2 separate regions of the Homo sapiens genome follow, and region 2 is linked to region 1. Evidence: promoter capture Hi-C in human tissues and cell types (Jung and others, 2019). All regions are on one chromosome and are shown on one strand. Each heading gives the region's core, a stretch centred on a gene start or on the middle of the fragment in contact. The rest is flanking DNA. Distances are from core to core; before and after follow the strand shown. Region 1 holds the start of SUCNR1 (succinate receptor 1). Region 2 has its middle 110 kb from the start of P2RY1.

Region 1 (5,914 bases), core at 1,206-3,705:
CCCAGGCTGGTCTCCAATTCTTGGACTCAAGTGATCCGCCTGCCTTGGTCTCCCAAAGTACTGAAATTACAGGTGTGAGTCACCATGCCCGGCCAGTACTGCAAACTTTCACTGCCTTTCAAACTTCCATTGATTCTCAAGCAGTGCATCTCAACATGTTATATGTAAAAAAAAAAAAAAGACAAAACAAAAAAACTTTGCCCCCTCAAAATTTGATGTGCTATACTGAATAGAAATAGTTTCTGAGGAGGTTTCTACTCTCACAGGCAGAACTGGCTACATATTTAGTAGAGCCCAGTGCAAAAGAAATATATGGGGTCCCTTGTTAAGAAGTTATGAAACATTTTAATTAAGAATGTGACAGTAGAGCATTAACTCAACTGTGTGATCTTTTTTGAGTGTGAAGCACTGTGAGACTACACAGTAGCATACCATGAAACCCACCCTGCTCACAGGGTCATAATTCTGAATCCAGCCTTGTTCCCGTGCAGCTATCATTTTGCAGACCTGCATAAAGCTTTGTAGCAGAAATACTCGTGACCTTTTAGTAAGTCTTTCCCAGTAACACTCTAGTATCTCAACTGAGAGCATTCGGAGGAAACAGGAAGTAGGACTTGGGAGGGAAACAAGGCTACCAGGCTACAGTCTAGATGACGTGTTCTATGAAAAAGGAGAAGCATAGACCAATTTTTGTCTTAGCAGCCAGAGTGAGATGGTAGTCAGGAAGTGGGACGAAGAAAGAGGAAGCTCTCGGGAACTCCCACCACCCCACAAAGGGGGAATTACTCTTTTCTTCCATCAGAATGGTGGCAGAAACCTGTGAAATACATCCATTTGTCTTTGTTTCTTGGAAGGGGTTCATGTTAATTTATGTCTAAAATTAACAAGCCTGGCATTGGTTATTCAAATGCTTTTTGCCCTTTTAAAAATATAGACAAAAATAATGTTTTAACCTTTCTTCCTTCTAAAAGTAGAAAAGAATTGCATTACTGAAAAATACCTGTTATTAATTCTTAGACTTTGTTGTGCACAAGGGTATTGTCATTCAATTCTGTAGGCAGTCAAGAATCAGAGTCGGTGCTTTTAGAATCCAAGTACATAGGCTTAAGCTCTGGTCCCTCCCGTTATTGATTCTGCAATCTTGAGAAAGTTAATTGACCTCTCTGAACCTTAGCTTTTTAATCTGCAAAATGAGAAAAATCTTAAATAATAACAACCTCAGAGGATTACTATATGCATTTGATGCATAAAGGTACTTAGTGTAATACCTGCCTGCCACATCACAAGAACTCAACAAATTATAGATATTTTTATTTCATGTAAATGCACATGTTTGTATACATAAATATTCATACATGTATAAATATATTTTACACATGTATATAAAGTGTGTAATATAGACACATATGTATGTATATATGTATGTGTATATATACATACATATATTTTGAGTTCCTGAGTTTTTAAGCTGTCAGATATTGGTGAGGAGAAATGCTTAGTTAGGAGGATGCCTGTAACAGAGCTTCTTTTTGGGCTTCTGCCTGTCATTGCTAACTCAATATTCAACTTACATAGCATTTAAATTGAATTACTGCTGCCTGCACAATTATGGGCTTTCTTAGTATAATCCCTATGCTTCACATCAAGAAGACTGAGTGTTTACTTGAATCTAAACCTAATATAATGCTTGGAAAAAGCCAGGTGTGCTTCCTGTCTGAAATGGTGGTAATGTACTTCCAGATGTTTTTCAGAGCATTGATTGGGATATATAAATTGCCATCTATTAAGGTTATTTTACTTAGCATCTCTCTCCCTAATCCCTAGCTATCTGATGTATCTTTTATGTGTTTCTTGATTTTAAGCACAGAAAATAAAATGGAAAATAACTTGAAGCTCTAGTATCTTTTTGCTAGTACACCAACATAGCATATATCCAGGTTTCCCTTTAAAATTTCAGTTTTATAGTTCCCTCAAAGTTATTGAAAACAGAGGTTTCGTTATTATATTCTCAATACAGAATTCACTAAGAAAATTAATTTTAAAAAAGAAGAAAAGCAGAGGCAACTGTATTCCCAATATAAGCAGTATTTACCACTTCTTATTGTGTAAATATGCAAATAAAATGAAAATAAGGAATGCTTCTCTGTTGCTTTGGTAGTGGATAAAATAAGTTCAACAGTGTTTTTCTAAAAATCTATTTGGTAAATGTGTTTCCTGTGAAATGAGTTACTTGTTTTTTGTCATTCAATTGCAAAACTGCATGTGAAAATAAAATAAATGTGAATGTGAAAATAAAAGCCTCACAAAAATTCCTCTGCATGAACATCTCTGACTGGGAGGTTTGACTGAATAAATTATTCCTGGGCTTTTGAATTATTAATCTTGGCTGCAGGATATGCAAATAGGATATGCAAATAGGACACTGTAATAACCATGTCCAGTGGCACAACACTGGGTCAGAAGCTATATCCAGCTGCTGGCAGAGTTCCTGTCAAGGGATCAAGTCTTCCAACAGAATGGTAAGCTACATGGCAAATTGTGCCTCTCAGTGTATAAAGTAAGGCCAGATTTCCTTCTAAAGGTGACCTGTGAGCAATTAAGGTTTTCAGTATTAAGTGTTTAAATTAATTCTTTATAAATAGATGTAAAACAGCAAAATAATTGAAAAAAAAAAGTCATTTTTATCTCTACGTTTATTTTTCAACAAATTAACTGTCTTCTTTTAGTTGTCAAATACTAATTTTATTTTATGTAAAAGGATTTATTATATTTGCTAACATCTCAACAACTTATATTTCAACAAAATAGTAATTGGATTTACCTAAATAAATATAACTACTTATGGGGAAAAATTAAAGTTCCTAAATGATTTGAAACAATCATGTATTTGATACATACACACACACACACACACACACACACACACACATATACATACATATATATATATATATATATATTTTTTTTTTTTTTTTTTTTTTTTAAGACAGAGTTTCACTCTTGTCACCCAGGCTAGAGTGTCTGAGTGCCAGAGTGACACATTTACAGCATGTGTTGGCTCACTGCAACCTCCGCCTCTGGGGTTCAAGCAATTCTCCTGCCTCAGCCTGCAGAGTAGCTAGGATTACAAGCGCCCACCACCACGCCCGGCTATTTTTTTTGGATTTTTTAGTAGAGATGGAGTTTCACCATGTTGGTCAGGTTGGTCTCAAACTCCTGACCTCAGGTGATCCACTCATCTCGGCCTCTCCAAGTGTTGGGATTCCAGGCATGAGCCACTGTGCTGGGGCATAATATTTTTATGTTTAGAAAATAATGTATTTGGGGGAATTTTCAGGCATCCTAAAAATTAAATTTAACATTTATGTGTGTAAAAATGATATTACCCAATAATTAATTTACTTAGGAAAAATGAAAAATTGCAGAAACCATTTCTATTCTACCTTCCATAACTTTTCAAAATGTGTGTGGTATTCTTAAAGAAGTTAATACACAATTTGTGCCATACTATTACTTTTTAATACCTTAATTTCTGGTGTAATGTATGGAATACATAAAAATAAAGTTACAAATGTTAAATTATTATATCTTTTCAGTGTGAATATATATTTTTGCTCAAATTATTTAGTAATCAAAAAAGTAATTTGTTAAAAAAAATTCTCATGTTACCATGTAAATTTGCCTTAAGGTAGCACTTAAAAGTAAACATTTTACAAATGTTATTTGTTTAATTGTGATGACTATAAAAACAAACAATTAAAAAGCTAAGAAACTATCACATATATATTTTAAAGTAAATTTCAAAAATGCAGATTTTCAAAAGGCTGAATATATTTAAAGTAAAAAACATTTTCAAGTTAAGTATTATTGGTCTGCTTATGTGAGTAAATTAGATATTGCTTCTAGTTCAATAATTCTAACAGTTTTAGATATATTTTTGGACTGGAAACTAAAGATTTCACTTTAATTTCTGCTCTTAAAAAATACCTATTCAAAATAATTCATCCAAATCAGTTACAATTTATTTATCACTATTTCCATTTCCTAAAAATTAAGAATATAGCCACTAGATAGCAGAAGAGAGAATATGAATTTTTCATGAGGGAATTTTCTCTTTAATTGGGAGTTTTGCTTAAAGGAGCAACTTACTTCATATGTTTATAGAATTGCGATGCCACACTAAAAACATACCCAACTATAAACATATCCAATTTGAAATATAGTATCTTCAAAATTTTGTATCCTAGTGAAGTTAAATTGGTCTGCAAATATTGCACAGCTCATATTTATAAAATCATAATCTATTAGAATTATGAACTTAGAAAAAATGAAACAAATGTATCAAAAAATTATAAAACATCATAAAAAAATCTCATTTTTATGAATAAAAATTCAGGTAAATATTAAAATGTAAAAGGGTACCCAAATATTAGGAGTGGTCTGTTTACAGACCATTTTTATTTCTTATTTTTGCCTATTTGATTTTATGAGTGTTACACCTTAACAATAATTTTACACATACATTTTTAAAAAGTTGTTTCAAAAAAATGAAGAAACAACTGTATGAGAAGAAAGACAAATATGATAATTTAGTCATTCATTTCTCTTATTTCAGCTCTACTCCTTCCCTACTACTCCTTCAATCCCCGACCTTCTGGGCTACTATAAAGCAGAATGCTCCTTGACTTTCATGTGACCCGTCACCTGCCTGAGTGATAGTTGCAGGAAATCAGGCTCTAGTTGCACAAGTCTTTGTGGCTATATTTTCCTTCCATTGCAGTCAAATCTTTCTGCTGTGCACAATACATAAGCTATTAACATTACCAGTGGTGACTAGGCAGAAAGATAAACGTTATGACCAGAAAAAAAGGAAATGCAAAAGTGAAACAAATTTCTTGTGTCAAGGAAACTTTCTATACCTTAATTTTCATTTGAATTTGTGCACCAGCTTTTTGAGTACCCACAAAATAACAAGAGCTCAGAAATAAGGCCTGAGAAGGTCCAACATTTAAAACTTGGGCAAAGAAGGATTAAGCCACAAAAGAGCATGAAAATGGAGAAAGGAGGAAAACAAGGAGATTGTTGTGTCATAGAAGATAGGAAGAGAGTGCTTCCAGAAAGTGTGGACTTAAAAGCTACTGAGAATAAATAATAATAGTAAAAACTGACCATTGAGCTAAAAAAAATAAAGTTTGTTAATATGTTAAAGCCTATTGACATTTTTGCTATATTTCTAGAAATTTAAAGTTTTTAATATTATCAAATAGATGCCAATTTTGAGAGAAAAAATGATAGGAAATTTAGATAAAAGGAGAAAGGAAATAATAAAAACTACCTGAAATCTCATCATTAGAGATAAAGCTATTAACATTTTGATGCACGTCTTTCTAGACTTCTTATGCTTATTAATTTCAGGTGTCATTTCTTAATTAAATGCTTCAGTTTTAAAATTTATCCTGGTAGATATTTAATTTTGCCTTATACAAATGTGTTTCTAAACTACAGCTACTACTACTACAATTACTAATTTTTAATACTTATCATATTATATTATATATAGTGTTGACTTTCACAGTGAAATAAGCAATGAGCTTAATCTGATGGTCTTGCTGCTTATCTGGCCTTGGAGAAAATATTTATAAAAATGCTTTGTAAATAGTCAGGTGTTCATATTCATCTCTTCACTCAACAAAGATTTATAGATCACCTACTATCTGCTGGTCACTGTGCCAGATGTGGACAATAAAAAATGAGTAAGACAAAGTTATACAAAATTCTAAGAAGTTTAGTATACAATGAAAGCATAAATGGGAGGACCTACTTTAGACTGAGGGTCAGACAGCCTACCTTGGGAAACCTACACTTGAACAGAGGCCTGAGAGAAGTATAGATATATGACAAATATGTGATGGGC
Region 2 (5,914 bases), core at 1,531-4,030, 850 kb after region 1:
GCTAGAAGACTCAGCGGAAAGAGGCTTTGGAAAGAGATTTTATTCTACAAATAGTTGTTAACAACTTACTATGTGTTAGCATAGGTGTTTGTGGTGTAGGCTAAAAAGTGCATCCCACATCTTAATTCCTAGTACCTGTGAATTTTACCTTATATGGCAAAAAAAAGGTCTTTGTCCATGGTTATCAAGTTAAGAATCCTGAGATGGGAGATTACTCTGGATTATCTGGACCCAATGTCATCACAAGTGTCCTTACAAGAGACAAACAGAGGGATATTTGAAACAAACACGAGAGTGTGAAGACAAAGCAAAGGGAGATTCCATGAAGACAGGAGTGATGCAGCCACAAGCCAAGAAATGTCAGCAGTCACCAGAAATTGGAAGAGGCAAGACACAGATTCTTTCCCCTGGAGCTTCCTGAAGGAGCACAGACCTGCCATGCCACATTTTGATTTCAGACCAATGATACTGATTTCAGATGCTGGCCTCCAGAACTGTGAGAGAATAAATTTCTGTTGTTTCAAGCCACTATGTTTGTGGTATTTGTTACAGCAGCCTCAGAAAACTTATACAGTGCCTGAAGCTGTACCAATTTTTTAAAAAGACACAAACCTGGCTTTTTATTTACAAAGTGTATGATTGCTAAAAGTAAGACAGAAATTCTAACTAATAACTGCCTACTTTATGCCAGGCATGTAGGCACTTTATTTTCATAATTTCATTCTTCACAACTCCATTCTTTCTGCCTGACCAGCATTCACATTTTTTAGTAAGAGCTTTCACATTGGTGTAAGCTTTAACTTGGGCTTTTTAATGCAGTGGTTTGAATTTACATGTGAAGTTATGGGTAAATAGTGTGTGGTTAGCTAATAATAATAGCATTTGCCTTAGATGGTATATGTTTTTCAGTTTTTAATTTTTACTCAAAGTAGCTGTAGTTATTGGGTTTCCAGCTATTTTGATACCAAGCCTGTGAGGTTTGATATCAGCTATTCTGTCTGGAGTGAATATTAGGGAAATCTGAAGGCCAGACCCCAGTCTAGTCAGTTAATGAGTTGAGAGAGAATAGAAGAGATATTTCTTAGGGAGGAAAGGTTCAGCCGACAGAAAACCATAATTCATTAATCATTGTTTTTTTTGAGACAGGGTCTCACTTCAGTTGCCCAGGCTGGAGTGCAGTGGTGCAATCTCAGCTTACTGTAGCCTAGACTTCCCGGGCTCAGGTGATTCTCACATCTCAACCTCCCGAATAGCTGGGATTACAGGTGCACACCACCACATCCAACTAATTTTTTGTGTTTTTAGTAGACAACGGGGTTTTGCCATGTTGCCCAGGCTGGTCTCAAACTCCTAGACTCAGGCATTCCACCCGGCTCAGCTTCCCAAAGTTCTGAGATTACAGGTGTGAGCCACCGTGCCTGGCAGCAATCACTCTTATTAGCTATCATCTGAGCAACTGCTACTTATCTCTAAATATTCAAGAAAATGCAGAATTGGTAGGAGGCAGTCACCCTAGGAAGTAGTCCACAAACCCTTAGGGTTTGGAGGGGTCTGGATAAAAAGGCAAAATGCCATGTATAGTAGATACAGGTTGACTATTTCTTGTCTGAAAAGCTTGGGACCAGAAGTGTTTCAGATTTCAGAATTCAGATTTCTCAGATTTTGGAATATTTGCATATATGTAATGAGATATCTTAGAGATGGGACTCAAGTCTAAATACAAAATTTACTTATGTTTCATATACACCTTACATACATAGCCTGAATGTAGTTTTATACAATCTTTTAAATAATTTTGTGCATGAAACAAAGTTCATATAGATTAAGCCATCAGAAAGCAGAAATCACACTATTTCATCCACCCCTGTGGTGTCATGTTAATGCTAAAAAAGTTTTAGATTTTGGAGCATTTTGAATTTCAGATTTTTGGATTAGGTATCCCCAATCTGTATCATGTGTTTTCATCAACTCCTATGCCCAACCAAGCTTCAGTGCTGCTCTGATAGTTCCTCTGAGAACACCAGCCCCAGTGGTAGTTGCCATAGAGTTCTGAAACAAGAGAACTATTGATGATTTTCCCAATAATTGAACACAGTGGGCAAGGGAAGCAACAGAACTTTATTTTACTATGCCTTTTTCTGCTGCTACCAGCGGCCTTCTTCCCTTGACAGCAGGCTCACCATATCCCCACGCCAAAACATGCACCCTTCCCAACTACTTTCCTTCTCTCAAAAGCTTTCTCGCGTATTTGTTGATTCTTTCTTGGCAGTTGTATTTCCTTCATAGAATGTTAACCAAAGAAGAGAGGGCCCTATGAGCATCTCTCCAGAGCAGACATTGGACTTGCACATCAACCCCCAACTCAAGCTTATTTACAAGCCTAAATCTGGCTTCACTCCTACCAGAGTGAAGCCCCCAGATGTCCCACTACTATTAAATCTGCTGGACTCTCTGTCAGAAGGTCTGTTTCTTGGTGACTATCGAGATTGACCTAGCTTCTTAGGGACTTAAAGGCTGCAGGAGCCACCCGACCTCTTCTTTGCCTTGTGCGTATAGCCTGAGATTTCTCCTCTTTTCTCTCTACTGACTCTGGAAATCTGGGAGGTAGCATTAACTTTTCATGTGTTTTTTCCCTTTAAATGTTATATGGTATGCTTTAGTTTCTATGTCAATGCCAAAGTTGTTACAGGTAAAGCAATCTTCTTTTATTTCCACCTTCCACGCTCAGAAATTAGTCTTAATCAGATTGAAACATCTGGACAAGAGAATGGGTACAAACTCCAAGTCTGGCCAGACAGACTGTCATAAAAATGTGAACCTTGGACAGAATGTGATAAAACCTGAAAAAGCATTGGAACCAGATGCTTTCAAAGAAAGTGCTTCAATTTGTCTGAGTTCCAGCCTTTAAAATTAGCATATTTTTAATATTGTTTAAGTTAGACAGTATATATTTGTCTGGTCAACAAAAACCTTACTTAACTAACCTAACTTGTAAGTTATTAGAAAAAAGTGAAATAAGATAATGTATGTAAAACATTGAGCATGATGCCTGGCACAATCATTCAATTGAATGTAAACTATGGATATAATTAAGGGTGATAGTAAATATCCAATCAGAATATGTACAAGCACTTTATGGAATTTATAAAGCACTATACAAATGCCAGGTATTACAAGTTTATTTTTATTTTTACTCTAAGGGGACAATTTAACATGTTCAGATTTTAAACTATTGTTACTTGAATTCACGTTAATTATTTAAAGGGTTCAGTCTTGTGTTCACTCCACTATATTAGAACTTATTGTACCTGTTCTTTCTCTTTAGATAAACAATGATAATGTGTTCAAATTAACCCAGTTGGAATTAATTAAATTAGCCTATTGGAAAAATAACATATTTGGGGTACATTTCTGAAGACCCATCTCAACGTTAAACGTTTCCTTAATAAATTAATAAAATCAGGTGATGGTCTGTCTCTTCTGACCATCTGGGTTTTGACACTAATTGCTGTTGATGAGTTCTTTCTGTTGAATTTTTAAGTTCAGGTAGAAACAACATTTCGTTCTTTATCATTCATGCTTCAATTCACACTTCCTCACTAAGGAGACTTCAAACAAACAGATTAGGAAAAATTAGCTGGGATATAACTCCAGGGTATGTTCATATACTTTAATTAGAAAATATGTTTAGGCTTATAAGTTAAATATTTCTAGATAAACTTAATTAAAAATAGATAACACCATCAAGTAGAAGAAATAGAATTAGGTTTTGCCTTCCTGGTGTAATCAGTAGATAGTTGACTAAGAATCTTTTTTGCCCAGATATAACAGGTGTGTACCGTTCAATCAACCAATTAGCAAACATCTTCTTAGTGGTTTTGTGCTTAGCCATTGATATTGCAGTTACTAAGGTTACACAAGATATATAAAAGAAGAAAGGAATTCTAGAGTCATAGACAGTTGAAGATTCAACTTCGCTACCTATTAAATATTGTATTTACTCTTCCTCGGCTGAAAATAAGGGGGGCTAATGGCTCAGCCAACCTTTCAAGGGGTTGATTGAATGAATAGTGCCTATGAGAATGCTTGGCAAATATCTAAAAGTTATTTTTTATAATAACTTTAATATATGGGAACTGATAAGCTTATACATTAACTAGGAAGGCATTATCAAATACAAGGTAATTTTTTTATCATTAAGTCCAAAATTGGTGATATAGACTACTTCTGGCAACATTCACAACTGGATCAGAGTTTTGTTGAGCCAACAAAATGTTAACTGATGTTTTTCTTATTTTGGTAAATATCATCATCTTGGAATCGTATTTGATACCTTTTTCTCTCTTAAGCCTATATCTGATCTATCAGAAAATCTTGTTAACTTTACTTTCAGAACAAACCTCAAGTCTGTTCATGGTTCACCACCTCCACTGTTGGAATCCCAGTCCAAGCCTCCATTATCTCTCACCTGGCAAAGTGCAGAAGCCTCCTAACTGGTTCACCTGCATTTACTTGTGCATCTCTGTTAATTATTCTCACAGTAGTCAGTGATTCTTAGTGAGCTAAAGCTTACCACATCACACACCTGTTCCCAATTCTCAAATAGCTTCCCATACATTTAGAACAAAATTTAAAAAGGTTACCAAAGTCAAAGAGGTTCTTCAGTGGGTGGCAATGGCTGCCTCTACACCTCATTTCCTCTCCCTCTTGCCTCATTCACTGGCTCCAGCCTCCTCTTCTTCCTCTTCCTCCTTAGACTCAGGATCTTGACAGCTGTCTTAGTGTTAGCTATTCTCTCTGCCTAAGATGTTGACTTCTATCTCACAGCAACTATAAAAGTACAAATACAAAAAATAATTCTGAATTGTGAAAGGGAAAGCTGTTGGCAAAAGGCAAAACAATATTTTAGAAAGCAACATAAAAGAATATCTTCATCACTTTGGGTGTCTTTGTTTGGGCTGCTATAACAAACTACTGTAGGCTGAGGGACTTATAAACAACAGATGCTGTATTTATTTCTCACAGGCTTAGATGCTGGGAAATCCAAGATTAAGGCACTGGCTGATTTACTGTCTTTTGAGGGCCCACTTTTTGGTTCCTTCTCATTGTGCCTTCTCACTGTGTTCTTTCATGGCAAAAAAAGGCAAAGGAGCTCTCTAAGGCCTCTTGGATAAGGTCATTAATCCCATTCATGAGAGCTCTTAGCTCTTCCCTCATGACCTAATCATCTCCCACGACCTTATCTCCTAATACCATCTGTGTTAGTCTGTTTTGCATTGCTAGAAAGGAAGACCTGATTCTGGGTAAATTATAAAGAAAAGGGATTTATTTTGGTTTATGGTTTTACAGATGTACAAGAAACATGGTGCTAGCATCTGCTTCTGGTGAAGGCCTTAGGAAGCCAACAATCATGGCAGAAGGTGAAGGAGGAGCAAGTGTGTCACATGTAAGAGAGGGAGCAAGAGAGGTTCCAGGCTCTTTAAACAACCAGCTCTTGCATGAATAGAGTGAGAACTCACTCATTACTACAGGGAGGGCACCAAGCCATTCATGAGGGCTCCACTCCCATGACACAAACACCTCCGACAAGGCCCCATCTTCAACACTGGGGAATCACATTTCAAAATGAGATTTGTAAGAAACAAACATCCAAACCATCACATTTAGAACTAAGTTTTAACATATGAATTTGGAGACAAGGGGGCATAAACATTCAGCCTATAGCATTGGGTAGAGAAAAGTTTATGAAATAGAACACAGAAACACATTAAAGATTACAAACTGGAGTACATTAAAATAAATACTTTGTGTTCATCAATACTATTAAGAGTGAAACTGCATCATTAAAGTATACCTTTTGGTTGCGTGTACTTCTCTGTATATGTTTTATTTCACACAATTGCACATACACATG

The links. Contacts are between HindIII fragments. The study calls those that stand out against the background at their distance.
Region 2: a fragment that was not itself captured here is called in contact with the fragment with the promoter of SUCNR1 in region 1 in 1 of the 25 tissues and cell types used here (aorta).

What each region holds. Positions count from the first base shown.
Region 1 is chr3:151,871,188-151,877,101 of GRCh38, forward strand. SUCNR1 (succinate receptor 1) reads left to right here and starts at 2,456. Exons shown (of 3, transcript NM_033050.6): 1 at 2,456-2,519. The region is part of intron 1 of AADACL2-AS1 (AADACL2 antisense RNA 1); the gene reads right to left. The HindIII fragment of the contact is 10,580 bases long and covers 137-5,914 here.
Region 2 is chr3:152,721,692-152,727,605 of GRCh38, forward strand. No RefSeq gene overlaps it. Among named protein-coding and RNA genes, the nearest start is that of P2RY1, 110 kb to the right of the region's middle. The HindIII fragment of the contact is 3,152 bases long and covers 1,205-4,356 here.